5 separate regions of the Homo sapiens genome follow, and regions 1, 2, 4 and 5 are each linked to region 3. Evidence: promoter capture Hi-C in 16 types of primary human blood cells and fetal thymus (Javierre and others, 2016). All regions are on one chromosome and are shown on one strand. The core of a region is centred on a gene start or on the middle of the fragment in contact, and the rest is flanking DNA. Distances in the headings are between cores, read along the strand shown.

The links. Contacts are between HindIII fragments. The CHiCAGO score rates a contact against its expected background, and 5 or more counts as called.
Region 1: a contact is called between a fragment that was not itself captured here and the fragment with the promoter of PTK2 in region 3, in 1 of 17 cell types (erythroblasts). The highest score is 5.7, in erythroblasts.
Region 2: a fragment that was not itself captured here is called in contact with the fragment with the promoter of PTK2 in region 3 in 6 of 17 cell types (total B cells, naive B cells, naive CD4 T cells and 3 more); the score reaches 15.2 in total B cells.
Region 4: a fragment that was not itself captured here is called in contact with the fragment with the promoter of PTK2 in region 3 in 3 of 17 cell types (activated CD4 T cells, non-activated CD4 T cells and naive CD4 T cells); the score reaches 8.2 in activated CD4 T cells.
Region 5: a fragment that was not itself captured here is called in contact with the fragment with the promoter of PTK2 in region 3 in 2 of 17 cell types (monocytes and naive CD4 T cells); the score reaches 6.8 in monocytes.

The regions. Positions count from the first base shown.
Region 1 is chr8:140,660,592-140,663,291 of GRCh38, reverse strand. All of the region lies in intron 35 of PTK2 (protein tyrosine kinase 2), which reads left to right. Among named protein-coding and RNA genes, the nearest start is that of AGO2, 26 kb to the right of the region's middle. The HindIII fragment of the contact is 4,196 bases long and covers 1-2,700 here.
Region 2 is chr8:141,264,667-141,267,366 of GRCh38, reverse strand. The region is part of intron 1 of SLC45A4 (solute carrier family 45 member 4); the gene reads left to right. Among named protein-coding and RNA genes, the nearest start is that of SLC45A4-AS1, 11 kb to the right of the region's middle. The HindIII fragment of the contact is 257 bases long and covers 1,289-1,545 here.
Region 3 is chr8:140,999,852-141,002,551 of GRCh38, reverse strand. PTK2 (protein tyrosine kinase 2) reads left to right here and starts at 1,270. Exons shown (of 36, transcript NM_001352702.2): 1 at 1,270-1,427. RefSeq lists silencers at 836-1,255, 1,276-1,605. The HindIII fragment of the contact is 6,005 bases long and covers 37-2,700 here.
Region 4 is chr8:141,405,299-141,407,998 of GRCh38, reverse strand. All of the region lies in intron 1 of PTP4A3 (protein tyrosine phosphatase 4A3), which reads right to left. Among named protein-coding and RNA genes, the nearest start is that of ASTILCS, 14 kb to the right of the region's middle. RefSeq lists an enhancer at 192-692. The HindIII fragment of the contact is 1,788 bases long and covers 502-2,289 here.
Region 5 is chr8:141,383,076-141,385,787 of GRCh38, reverse strand. No RefSeq gene overlaps it. Among named protein-coding and RNA genes, the nearest start is that of PTP4A3, 7.6 kb to the left of the region's middle. RefSeq lists an enhancer at 1,048-1,665. The HindIII fragment of the contact is 5,174 bases long and covers 1-2,712 here.

The sequences.
Region 1 (2,700 bases), core at 180-2,679, 340 kb after region 3:
TTTCACAGCCTTTTAACATGTCAGCACATTGTCACCTTGCTCCATTGTCTATGTGTGTACACACATCACTTCCTGCTGTCGAGCAGCTTGAGAATGGCTGTGTATCTCATGCCCTCTTCCCCTTTAAGATTTCCATTTATATTTCTCATAACAAGGCCATTGTCCTACATAACCACCACACAATCACCACATTCTGGAACTTTAACATGATGTAATGCACTGTCCCACTCTGCAGGGCACGTTCCAGGGTCGTCGGTTGTCTCTGTAGCACTTTTCCGTCGCCTGTGAGAGCCAGACCAGGATTACACTTTGCACGTGGTGTTGCTTTCTTCAGCCTCCTTTCATCTGAAACAGCTCCTCAGCCTTTTTTTATCTTTCATGACATTGACATTTTTGACAAACATAGGCTCAGTGATTTTATAGAGTATTCTTAAAGTTGGATTGAGGGATATCCTATAAACATTTGTTTCTTCCTGATGAGATTGAGATTTTGCATCTCCAGTCAGGAATACAACATAAATAATGCTGAATCCTTCTCAGCATCATACCCAGAGACATACGATGTCCAGGGGATGTTCCAGTTGACCAACTGGACATTGACTTCTGAAGGACGGTTGGACACAACTCCTGTTGGTGATTCCTTTGTAAGTGGCATTGATTCATATGCATAAACCCTTTAACTTGTTTTTGAGAAGGCCTGTGACTGGTGCTGTAGTGTAACTTCACATCCCAACCAAATGGGGTTCTCTCACTTACCTGCTTCACCGGGCCTCTGGCTTTCCATGACAAGCCTCAGTTTTGCCCCAAAGTGGAGAAGTTCCATATGCTAGAGGCAAGAAAATGGTGTCCTACCAAGTGGATATTTTAGTGGGACTATTTGTCAACACCTACTCTAGTTGATAAAGTCTAAAGTAATCTTTTCATCTCCCCTGATTCCAATACACAAATTGCTCTCCTGTATACAGTATTTTTTAATTATTAATTTTTTTTTTTTTGAGACAGGGTCTGTCTCTGTCACCCAGGCTGGAATGCAGTGACTCCATCACAGCTCACTATAACCTCCAACTCCTGAGCTCAAGTGATCTTCCTGCCTCCGCCTCCCAAGTAGCTGGGATTACAGTTGTATACCACCACGCCCAGCTAATTCTTTATTTTTTTGTAGAGACAGTGTCTTACTGTGTTGCCCAAGCTGGTCTCAAATTCCTGCTTCAAGCCATCCTCCTACCTCGGTCTCCCAAAGTGCTGGGGTTACAGGCGTGAGCCACCACACCTGGCCTTAAATCATTTTTGAAAAGAAGAGGAGCCTGTCTTTGATCCTGCATCTGCCTTTCACTGTCCTCATGCCTCCTCCTGTCCCCATTGTACTTCCTGAAAGAGCAGCCCATCCCTGATGGGGCCACCTCCTCACATGGCAGCTGCACTCAGCGCCAGCTCAGAGCATTCCAGTGCTCCAGCTGTTTGGAACTCTCTCTGCTGTAACAGCCCTTCAAGGTCTCCTAATTGCCAGAGCCCCTGCTTTCCCCTCAGTCCTAACTCCCCCTTGAGACCCCCTGCTCTGGCCCAGAGCTTCCTCACTCACTCCTCTCCTGCCAAGACCTCTGCTCAGGCTTTTGTTCCCTGCCACCCTTGAGTGTGGTCATCTCCCAAAGTGCTACCCACTTGTTTTATTAAAAAATACTTTTTCACTCTGGTAGTTCTTCTCATTCTCATAGATTCAAGTATTTGATGCCTCCCAAATCTGTGTTGATTTTATAGAACCCCGCCCTGAGCTCTGATCTCCAACTGTCTGCCATTGGCAAGAACGGTCTGCTTTCCTTGTTTGCTTCCACAGTCAGTGACAACACCATGCACTTGCATGTCTGTTCCCAATCCCCTACACACATGCAAACAACCACACACCTTCCATCTCTCATCAGGTCTCAGGTTGGTCCGTTCACCTGCACATCCACCATCACCTCTCCTCTGAAGATGGCCTCTTAGATGGTTTATCTGCCTCTTGTCTGTTCCCCTGCCCTTCCATTCAGCCTCCACATTGCCGCCAAGAGCCATCTTTCTAGAATATCTCTCTAGATTTTGTCATTCTCCTTCTTAAAAATCTCTTATCCCTCTTGCCAAGTCCTGCCAAATAAAGATCAACTAGGTGTGGCTTTCACAGTTGAAGCCAGCCTACTTTTACAGTATAGGCCAAATTCAGACAAATTCTCTCTGTGAAGTCTTTCTGACCCTCTCTGAGACAGAATGCATTGCTGTCTTATCTATGTACTTTTCTACTACGTGATTTATTCCAGTGTATTATAGGGTCCTGTGTATGCTTTTCCCATTGTAGACTGCGGGTAAAAACAGGTCTTCCTCCTTGTATCCAAGCACCAAGTGTCTCGTACATAATAGGTGCTCCATAATTGATAAAAGAGCAAATGGATAAGTCACCACTGGTTGAAGAAACAGATAAGAAGGATCATGAGACTCTCCCATGCAAAGCATTCGAACCCTGTAGGACAGCATTTTGTGTTCATTAGCTGCTTCCACCATTGCTGCCCTGACTTAATGTGTGCGGGGGGAGGGGCGTACATAATGGTCTGGCTCTGTCACCCAGGCTGGAGTGCAATGGCACGATCTTGGCTCACTACAACCTCTGTCTTCCAGGCTCAAGCCGTCCTCCCACGTCAGCCTCCTGAGTAGCTTGGAATACAGGTGCACACC
Region 2 (2,700 bases), core at 168-2,667, 260 kb before region 3:
CTGCCTCCATCCCTCAGCGTCTCCACTCCAGTGCAGGAGCCTGGACTATTGCACTGTGTAGCCACGCAGGCCCCACGGGACACGGCAGCAGGTGGTCTGCCGGCTTCCCAGAGCTGCTGCCCCGGTATCATTCCTGAAGGACAGCAGTGAAGCTGCTGAGGCCAAGGGAAGGCCAGAGTCCAAGGAAGGCAGTGGAAGTGTCACGGAAGTCTCCTGGCTTGTGGTGAATGCAGCACTTGCTATATGCGCACACAGATTTGGCCGTTCACAGGCAGGTCACCTGCCCCGTCCTGCCAGCCCCCGCAGTTCAGGGACCTGCCCACCGCTGTCCTGGGGCTCCCTTGCTGTGTCGTGTTGCTTGACTATGTGCCTACTCTGAGTCCAGTATAGCTCAAGACAGCTTGCCAGACCAGGGTACCACAAATTGTTAGAAAATTAATACTTCATTTCCTCATTTCCAGTATCTTAATGGTAGAGTGATGGCGGACATTTGTGGGAATAAGGCACTTCAACATCTGGGCCCTCTTGTTAGATCTGTTTTGGAAATTTCCGCCCTTCCAGCACACACTGCTTGCCCCACACTTCCTGCCCAGCCAGGCATGCACTGAATACATGTGGGGAGGAACTTGTAGAAGAGCTCATTTTCTTTTCGTTGAGTTTTAAGGACTCTTTGTATATTATGGATGCCAGTCTTTTATCAGATATGTCTTTTGCGAATACTTTTACCCCGTTTGTGGCTTGTCGTCTTCTTCCCTTGACACACACTGGTTTCATGCTGGAAGTCAGTGGGATTTCCCACATGCTTTTCAGGAAATAGCCTTAGACGCAGAATTGCCAATGCTGCTGTTAGTGTTCCTCTCCGTGGCCATCTGGAGAGGCAGGAAGACACGTGCCGGCCGTGACTGGGGGAACTGCATTGGTAAAGATTGAACGGGGCCGTCCGAGGCTGATGGTGGTGGTGGGTTTGTCTGACTGTGGGTGCCCCTACTCATGCCTGTTTCTGGGTGGTGGGTGCAGAAAACACACAGCCGTTCTCATGAGCCGGCCCTCATCAGCATGTGCCGCCCACAAGCGGTGTCTGCAGCCCATGGTGTCAGGCCCATGCGTGCGTGTACATGCGCTTCGTGTGTAGGGGCTGTGAAAGGGGCAGCACACGTTTGTGGTCACCGTGCGGACGCGTGTTGTCCGGACTCGCTAGACCGCTTCCCAGGAAGCATGGCTCACGGAATTCTCCTGTCGCTGTTGAACGCTGGGACTGTGCTGTAGATCTGAAAGTTTCACCCAAGCTTGAGGTGTGTGTCAGCAGCAACTCTCCAGTTACCTTTTTGGTGAAATTTAAGTTTACAGCCAGCTTTTCCACTCAGCAAATTGTAGGAAGTCATGTGTTTTGGCATCAGTTACCCTTAAATTAGAAACAGGACAATAGAGGAAGTTGTTGATTGGAACAATTGTAGTTTCGCTTGTCTGAGTGCATCTGCGAATCATAACAAAATTGTTGTCACCGAATGCCCCGACAGTCGCTGGAACAGATTCCAAAGGGAAGCTTGCTTTTCCATGCTGGGGAAAATCTGCCCGAAAAGTTTCACTGTTCTTTTGAATATGAGATACTAGAACAGGTCACAGCTTAACTTTTGAGCTTCTCCGCATTTTAAGCAGCTGAGGCGACAGCAGCTCTCAGGGGTACAGGATTGCCTGTGCTGGGGAAGGAGGAGCGTGACCTCCCTTAAATGGGTTCAGTGTGACGTCATGCCTCAGTAGGGAGTTTTCAGCTGTGTACTAGAGAAGAATCATTTTCCTTTTTTCAGATAATGCTCTCGTGCTTATATAAAATAGTTTCCTTACAGAAAACAATTTGCTTGCTCTAAGAAAGTGACCTCACGGCTGTAGTTTGCTGGGCGTTGGACTGGTTTTATGGTATCTGATTGCCCCCGCGCAGTGTGAGAACACGCCCCGCGCTGGCACCCAGCCCCTCCCTGCACACTCCTCCCTTCTCTTCTCAGAGCTGCTTTCCTTTCATTTCTTGTGAGGCCCTAGAGATGAAGTGACTGGGGGAGGCCGTGAAGGGAAGGATTTCAAACTGCCTCAGAGTCTTCGTGTTCAGGAAATATGCACCACATGGGCCCTTGTTCCAGTCCCAGCAAGGGCTGTGGGTGAGGAGGACCAGAGGGCCTCGAGGTGTCCACTGTTGTCTCTCGGGAAATGGACCATCACATCCAAACATGTGTCCATAAACTTTGGAAATACAATCCATCTTTAAGTTGGCAGCTATGCATATTTTGGTGATGGTTTGGTAGACTTGTTAATTTGGTTATATTCTTTTTTTTGTCCATTCTCGCTCAGACAACAAAAGAATTAGATTATAAACTGAAAATATAAGAATGAATAGCCTTAATTAGATGGGAAGGAACACAGGGGCCTTTCCAGCATGATAGACGGGTTCTGTCTTGATAGGAATTTGTTGAAACTGTCTGGGTAGTACCTTCTCACTGCATGTAAATTATAGCTGACTTCATAAACAACACTTAACAGCTGTCATGATCTAGCCAGTTAGAAAACATAAGGGCAGAGGAAATCCTATTTGCAGTGACCATGACAAAGGTTAATTAGGAGAAAACAATGTGGAAGACCATGGAAGGACTGCTTTTAAGTTCTCCCCGAAGGCGTCAGGGTGGACTTGGACAGGTGCAGGAGCGCTGTTGT
Region 3 (2,700 bases), core at 21-2,520:
CATTTAAATATGGTAAAATCTTGATAAGCAAAAGCTTTTTATTTTACTTCATTTTTACTTTTATAAAAGCTCCTAATGCAATGACGTGTGTCACCTCTCTGGGCTTCAGGGTGTTCACCTTTCAAAAGGCCTCGGTGCCTGTCTGTCCTGCTTCCTGGCTTGTGGTTAGCATCAAAATGACACCATAAAAATGAAAGTTGCAGCCTTGAGGGTTCTTCTGGTTTCATTTCCGACCACAAGGTTGCCAGAGTGACTTTTTTTTTTTTTTAAATAACACAAATCAGTTATCACTTCCTGCTTAAAGCCCTCCAAAGGTTCCCTGTTGCCTAAAGAATAAACTCCAGGCACCTAAGCAAGCCCCACGCAGCCGTCTGCATTTTTCAATCCCTCCAACCTCGCCTTTTGCTATTTCCCCCACCCCACCTACGGCACGTTCCGGTCATAACCAACTAGCTCCTCGCTGAAACTGGCTCACACCGCGGAAGCCCGGGTCGGTGTCGGGGCGAGCCTTCCCTCCTTTTCCTGGAGCCCGTCTCAGGTCTGTAGCCCTCGGGAGGGATTGCAGGGCTCGTTCCCTGCTGGCGTTCATTTAGGTAACCTGTCTACCTCCAGTGGACTTCTAAGTCCCTTTCATGATTTTTCATCTTCCAAAATCAAATAATGGCCCAGCCCAACTTAGCTATAATGCCATGAAAAGAATCTCTGAGCCTCAGTTTCCTTGTCTGCAAAAAGGGCCCAGGAACCGCTCGTTAGGGTCGGTGTGGTGCCTGGAGAGTGCACTGCAAGGCCCGGGGCCCGCAGCGGGTGCCCGACAGCGGGCGTCCAACTCTGGGGGCGGGGCCGCAGGGCCGCTCAGGAGGGAGGTTCTCCAGAGGGGACCCCTTCGGGATTTGGGGGCAGGGAAGGAGATGGGGAGGACTTTCCCGAAGTCCGTCTAATCCCGCTGGCGGAGAGCGAGGCAGGTGGGACCCCAGGATGTCCGCTCGGCGGGGCGACCCCGGCCACCCCCGAGACCAGGGCTTTCCTCGTCCGGCCGCCACGCCCGCGCGCAGCCTCGGGCCACCCCGAAACCCCGGCGCGGTCACTACAGGACAAATTACGCGAGCAGAGCCTAGCGGCGCGCTGGGCATGCGCGGGGGCGGCGCGCATGCCCAGTCCCCCCGAGAGGCGGGAACTCCGGACTGAGACCGGGTCGGGCGTGCGCTGCCGAGAGAGGACGCGCGCCTCAGCCGGCTGCCGCGCACGCGCGCGGGCCCGCGCCGACGCAGCACGGCCTCGAGGGCGCGAGCCCGCGCCGCCGCCGCCGCCGCCGGTCCCGGACCACTGTGAGCCCGCGGCGTGAGGCGTGGGAGGAAGCGCGGCTGCTGTCGCCCAGCGCCGCCCCGTCGTCGTCTGCCTTCGCTTCACGGCGCCGAGCCGCGGTCCGAGTGAGTGCGGGGCGCCGGGCGCGGGGCGCGGGTCGGGGGCTGGGCGGGCTCCTTCTGTGCAGCGGTCGTGGGCTGGGCCGCGGCCCTGAGGGCGGAGGGGCAGAGCGGGGCCGCCCAACCAGTCCCGGGGCGGATGCGGCGGAGACCGGCCCCTCCCGCGCCCCCGGCCCGGGTTCTGGGAGGAGGGGAGGCCGGTGGCCGTGAGGAGGTTGGGGGCCCTCGCGGAGGCCGAGAGGCTTAAGGAGGTCAGGGGGCGCGCTGGGAGGCGGGGGTTCGGGGCGCTGGGTGGTCGGGAGGCTTGGGGAAGACTGGGAGGCTGAGGGACGTGGGGAGGCCGGGAGCTCGAGGAGGTCGGGGGTTTTGGGGGCGCGCGGGGAGGCCAAGGGGTTCGGGGAAGACAGAAAGGCTGGGGGACGTGGGGAGTCCGGGAGACGTGAGGAGGAAGGGGGGGGCGGCTTTCGAAAAGGCCGGGCGCGCGGAGAGGCCGAGGGGCCTGAGGAAGACGAGGAGGCCGGGGCTCTGGGGGCGCGCAGGGCGGACAGAGGCGCGGGGAGGACGGGCCGGCCTCCGCCGGAGCGGACCCAATGCCTGAAAAACAAAAGGGGAGAGGCAGGAGGAGGAAGAGGGAAATCGCAGGGACGTCGGCAGGGTTCGCCCGGACGCGAGAGGGAGGCTCGCGACGGCCCGACCTCCGTCCCCCGGGCGCGGCCTCGCGGGCAGCCAAGGGTGGGCTCCGAGCGGCCTGCCGGTGCCCGAGCCCCAAGCCCGCCGTGTCCCCGAACGCAAACCCTCAAGTTTGGTAGAGCCCCGTGGGCTTCTTGGCGGGAGCCCTGGAGCCCTCACTGAAGTCCTCACTGGAGTCATTGTGCTTCCCAAGTTTTCTCCTCTTCCCCGCCCCCAGCCCCCGACTCTGCCGCGGTGGCTTAGGCGCAACTGTTTGCCGAATTTCTCTCTGGGTTCCTTGTGTAGCGGCATCCTGTTCTTTCTTAGAAGAAGGGGTGTGTGTGTGTGTGTGTGTGTGTGTGTGTGTGTGTGTGAATTGGTTTCATTTAATTGCAGAATTTTGTAGCTAAATTCAGTGAGGGTAAAGTTTCTTTTTTTTTTTTTTTCCGAGTCATTTCAACAGTGTCTCATTCTTGCATAGTTAGCCTGCAGCTGGGTTTTTGGCAATGAGACTAAGATAATAGTAATATTGTAGTAATTATGGGAACTGGTTATACATTCAAGCTGAAAGCTGAAGGCAGTGCAAGAGTTTGGGGATTTGTATTTAAGA
Region 4 (2,700 bases), core at 146-2,645, 410 kb before region 3:
CTTTTGGCTTCCCTGGGCCACGCTGGAAGAATTGTTTAGGACCACACATAAAATACACTAACGCTAATGATGGCTGATGAACAACAACAACAACAAAAAACCTCATGATGTTTTAAGAAAGTTTACAAATTTGGCCAGGCACGGTGGCTCACGCCTGTCATCTTACCACTTTGGGAGGCTGAGGCAGGTGGATCACTTGAGGTCAGGAGTTTGAAACCAGCCTGGCCAACATGGCAAAACCCCATCTCTACTAAAAATACAAAAATTAGCTGGGTGTGGTGGCGGGCACCTGTAATCCCATCTACTTGGGAGGCTGAAGCAGGAGAATCACTTAAACCCAGGAGGTGGAGGTTGCAGTGAGCCAAGATCCCACCACTGCACTCCAGCCTGGGCAACAGAGTGAGACTCCATCTCAAAAAAAAAAAAAAAATAGAAAGTTTATGAATGTGTGTTGGGCCACATTCAAAGCCGTCCTGGGCCGCGCTGCTGGCTGGGCAAGCTTGTTCTACTCTGTGGGCCTGCCACATTTCGTTTATCCTCAGCTGATGGACATTTGGGTCATTTCCAGCTCTGTCTGAATTTTACCCTCAGGGACTGAGCCAGGGGGCTGTGCAAGGTTGGGAAGAGGGCTACACCTTAACCATCACCCACAACTTCTGTTCTCCCAAGACCCCATTGGGTACGGGAGGTTGAGGTCCTACCAGATGCACCCTTACAGAAGCCCCAGCTTTGTGCCCACGTGTGTGAAGGAATGGAGAGGGCAGGAGAGGGACTGGAGGTGGGGAGGCCTGAGAGTCCAGGCCAGCATGTGGACTGTGGGGACACAGGGCAGGCAGGCAGAATCCACACCTTCTAGGTTCTGTCCGGGCTGTGCCAGGCTGCCAAGGGAGGATGCTGGGCAGGTCAGGGAGGAAGAGAGGTCCCAGTGGCCAGGGGAGTTGGGGAGGGACTCTCCAGGATCCCCAGCAGAGAGGGCAAAGGGTACCTCCCAAGGGCCTGACCTCCTCCCCTGGAGAGAATCCAGAAGGTGAAGGTGGCATCAGAGATGGGCCCTAGAGGACAGGAAAGATTTCTGAGCGCATTTTTGGAAGTTCAAAGCATAACCTGCATGACCTTGCACATACAGTGGGCACAGGGCAAAGACTTATTTAATTCGCTCAGTGGGAACAGCAGGAGGCAAAGCCGGCTCAGAGGAGGATTCAGGGCGAAGTGCCTACAGCCCTTGAGAGCTGGCAAGATGGATTAAGATGGAAAGAAGAGGCGGGCTGTCGGTGGCATGCAGGCAACACAGCCGTCACCACTCGCCATCTTCTGTGCCACACAGAATCCACTTGCACCTCTACCAAAACTGTAGTTCACGCAGGATGTCAATGAGTCTGGGCCCCGTTTGATCACAAACACTGGGGTCACATATCCCCAGAGTTGGCCTAATTGGTCCAACAGAGCAGAGTGGAAGAAGTGGGCATCCAGATGGGGGCGCGGCTTGAGCAAGGGCCAGAGGCAGGAGGGCAGGACTTCCCAGGGGGACACCCCAGGGAACTGCTCTCCGGAAAGGGCGGGCTCTGGGTGGCAGCAGAAAGAGGACGGCAGGACTTCCCAGGGGAAACCCCAGGGAACTGCTCCCCGGCTTCTCAGAAGTGCTTCAGGGCACGGACAGGCCTCCACAATCCCCAGTCCAGGCACATCACAGAATCAAGTGCAAGGTGAGGAAATGGAAAGTCCCCGGAATCCCCAGATGGGGCAGGAAGCAGCCGTGGGTGGCCGACAAGTGAAATGGTGACACCTGAGCCCAGATGCCTAAAGCCACCGCCCAGAGGGGCTACCGAGGGTCACCAAGAATCTGGGATACCCATCTGGCATCCTGGGTATCCCCACCACTGCCCCCACCAGTGTCCTCGACCTAAGTCAGATCATAGCCCCCTCCGCTCAAAGCCTCCAGTGGTGCCCGCGTCACTCAGGAAAGCCAAAAATCCTTATCGCCCTAAAGGCCCCACGCGAGCTGCTCCCTGCCCTCTGACCTCCTACCACTCCCCTCTCCTCATCTGCTGTAGCCTCACCTGCCTCCCAGCTGTTCCTGCAACTTGCCAAGCACAGTCCTGCCTCCGAGCCCTTGCACTGCCTGTGCTGGAGGCCAGGAGCATGCTCTGTCCCCACATCGTCCGGTGCTGGCCCCTTCTTACCACTCGGATCTCAGGTTCAGCATCCTCCTGTTCCTCCTGCTAGCCACCGAGACCTGTCCTCTGTCCCCCACACACAGTAGGGATCATCTGTCCCCCTTCTGGCAAAGCTTGTCAGCCTCTCTCCCCACGCAGGACAAGAGACCGGCCACAGCTCCACCCTCGGCTCCCTGGTTCTCAATGGGCACCGTACACAGCAGGTGCTGGCTCAGTGGATGTGTGAACATATTCGACTGTCCTGTGAGTGGGAGTAAGGCAGAGACAAGCATCCTCAGTGATGGATGAGGATGCTGAGGATGAAGAAAGGAAGACCCGCCCGCAGCCATTCCTTCTCACCCAAGCACTCCCAGCAACACAGTGACCAGGGCATCTGTGGGTGGACCCAAAGTCACTGCTTGGGTGGTCTTGGGGAAAACTGGCTCCGACCTCAGGGACCCGGAGGTTGGGGGGCCTGGAGGAAGGAGCGTCTGCTGGGTGTCTAGCCAAAATTGCCTGGGGAGCCCCCAAGGAAGACTGGACATGC
Region 5 (2,712 bases), core at 135-2,634, 380 kb before region 3:
TCACGTGTACCTCTGGGCAAGGGTATTGACAGAAGGCTTTCATCCCACCTTGTTTTCTGGGGACCTCTTAGACCCTGGAGGGGCCCACAGGGCTCAGAGACCCTTGCCAAACCAGGAAAATGACACTGTTTCTGGCATTGAAGTTCCCAACCCTCAATCCAAGAACAATTTGGAGAATTTGTGATGAGGCTGTTTCTCCTGTTTTTTCCAGATTCAGTGAAGGTCCCTGAGCTGAGGACGAGAGAGGAGAGATGATGAGGAAGGCAAAGAGGAGACAGGGGGAGGAGAGCGAGGAACAGAAGGAAGAAGGGGAGGAGGGAGAAGGGAAAAAGAGGGAGGGAGGGGGAAGGGAAAGAGAGAGAGGGAGGGAGAAAGGAGGGAGGAGGTGAAGGGGAAGATGAGAAGGGGAGGAGGCAGAAGATGTTCTGGGAAGGGACAAGAGACGGGCCTGGTGCCTGGGCCCCACGCCTCCCGTTCCTCAGCAGATGAGGCCTGTTGGGAGGCTGAGGAAGGGAGATTGGTGTCCCCACAGGGAGCAGAGCAGGGCTGAATCTAGGGATGCAACAATGCAGAGGGTCCAAATGTCCCCACCAGGCCCAGAAGAGGGCGGGGGCAGCTGGCCCCACCCAGGGACCCAGGCTCAGGCAGGCTGTGCACTGCCCAGCAGCAGGGAACGTGGGGCCAGGGCCTCCATGCCTGATGTGTGCTGAGCCTGCATGCTGAGCCCTCCATGGGGAGCCTGGTGGGGGACAGAGGGCAGCCACAGAACAAGTGACCCTCCCTGGAGGTCGTGGGGCCCAAACACTGGATGCTGCCCAAGACACGGCAGGTCCAGGCTGAGGAACCTGAGGTCCCGACCCTCTCACGTGGGACAGGGCCTGCAGGAGGCAGCCTCCAGGCCCCCCGAACCTGACAACCCCTCATCCTCCTGGCGTGTGGGTCTGTCTTCTCCACTGGCCTGGGATCCATCCACAGTTGCCATCTCCCTCGTCCCCACCAGTGGGCACTCAGGGACAGGAGTTGAGTGAGGCTCCATGTGAGATGCAGGGAACACAGGCACTGGTGGGGGCAGCACAGCTTGCTGGAGTCCCAGCTTCCTGGCCGCTCTGGAGTCAAGGAAGGCTGTGGGTCTCATACCACGTCCTCAGGGCTGCTGACCACCCTCCACGGGGGCCTTTATCCCAGGAAAAATCCCTCATTCCCGGGAAGCTACCATTGCCAAAAATATGGCCTGACAGGCACCCGTCTGACAGGTGCTCCTCAAGCACCCATCCGCGGACACATGCTGAACCCATACGATGCTCTAAACGGGGCGTGCACACTGCAGCCCTCTCAGCACAGGGGCCATGCACCACCAGTTACCAGGATAATCCCTGTGGATGTCGGATTACAGCCTGCTGGGCTGGAGAAGTGGCTGCCCTCAGCAGGGCGCGTGCCTCCCCAGTCATCCCAGTCCCCCTCTGCAATGACAGAGCCCCAGGGAGCTGCAGAGAAGGGGATTTCTTCTTGCAAACAAAACCCCACAGGGAGCCCCAAGATCTAGCTCTAGTTTATTCCTCTATCCAGCAAGCATCAGTCAGACACCTTCTGCCTGCCAGGCCTGTGCCAGGACAAGGCGACACCAGACCCTGTCCTCCGGCCACATCAGGGAGGGGTTGGCGAACAAGGGAAGGAACAACAGGAAGGTGCCAGTGGAGAGGCCAGGCGCGTGCCATGGCGGTGGCAGTCCTCCTTCCTGCAGATCACCCAAAGCCAAACAGCAAGGAAATGCAGGCGCGGGGAAGCAAAGCCAGGAGCCCCTGATGCCCATGCTGTTAGCCACCCATCCACCTGGGTGCAGAAGATGCTCTCGGGGTTCACACTGAGAGACAGGCTGGAGCTGGGCGATGGCCCAAGTGAGTTCGGAACAGGCTGTGGGGCAGGGGCACTCCCACATCTCCAGCAGGGCTTAGAGAACAGGCAAAAGTGGATTCCGATCTCGGCAAGGCAGCGAGTATCCCCTCCTTGGAGGATAACCGAGCCTCTCTGGGGAACTCCTGGGGTGGTAGACGGGAGAGGAGATTTCTCACCGGAGGGGAGACCAGCCTGCTGTCCTGGGCTCGGGAGCAGCTGAAACTCCTTTTGGGGAATGCTCTTGGGAGCTGATTTATAAGGCACAGGAAGAGCCCCGTGTGGTGCAGCCCCACCCCGCTTGTGTCCAAACACAGCCTGTTGCTGTGGACACCCTCACCTCGCTCCTGGCCCAGGGAGGGGCGACTTGCCAGGGCACACAGAGCCCCCTACCAGGAGCCAGCCTGATCCCTGACCTCTGACCCTGGGAGCATGTGGGAGGTGCTGGCTGAGGAAGCAAAACTGCCAGTGTGGCGTCCATCACACTTTCCACATGTTTTAGCAGCAGGGTGTTTGTTTGTTTGTTTGTTTGTTTGTTTAAGAGACAGGGTCTGGCTCTGTTGCCCAGGCTGGAGTGCAGCGGTGCGAGCATGGCTCACTGCAGCCTTAAACTCCCGGGCTCAAGCGCTCCTCCTGCCTCAGCCTCCAGAGTAGCTAGGACTGTGGCATGTGCCTCCACAGCTGGCTTAGCAGCAGATTTTTTCTTGCAAACAAAACCTCACAGGGAGGAACTCCAGGTTAGAGAACTAGCTTATTCCTATACTAGCAAGCATCAGCCAAACACCTTCTACGTGTCAGGCCTGCACAGGACAAGGTGATACC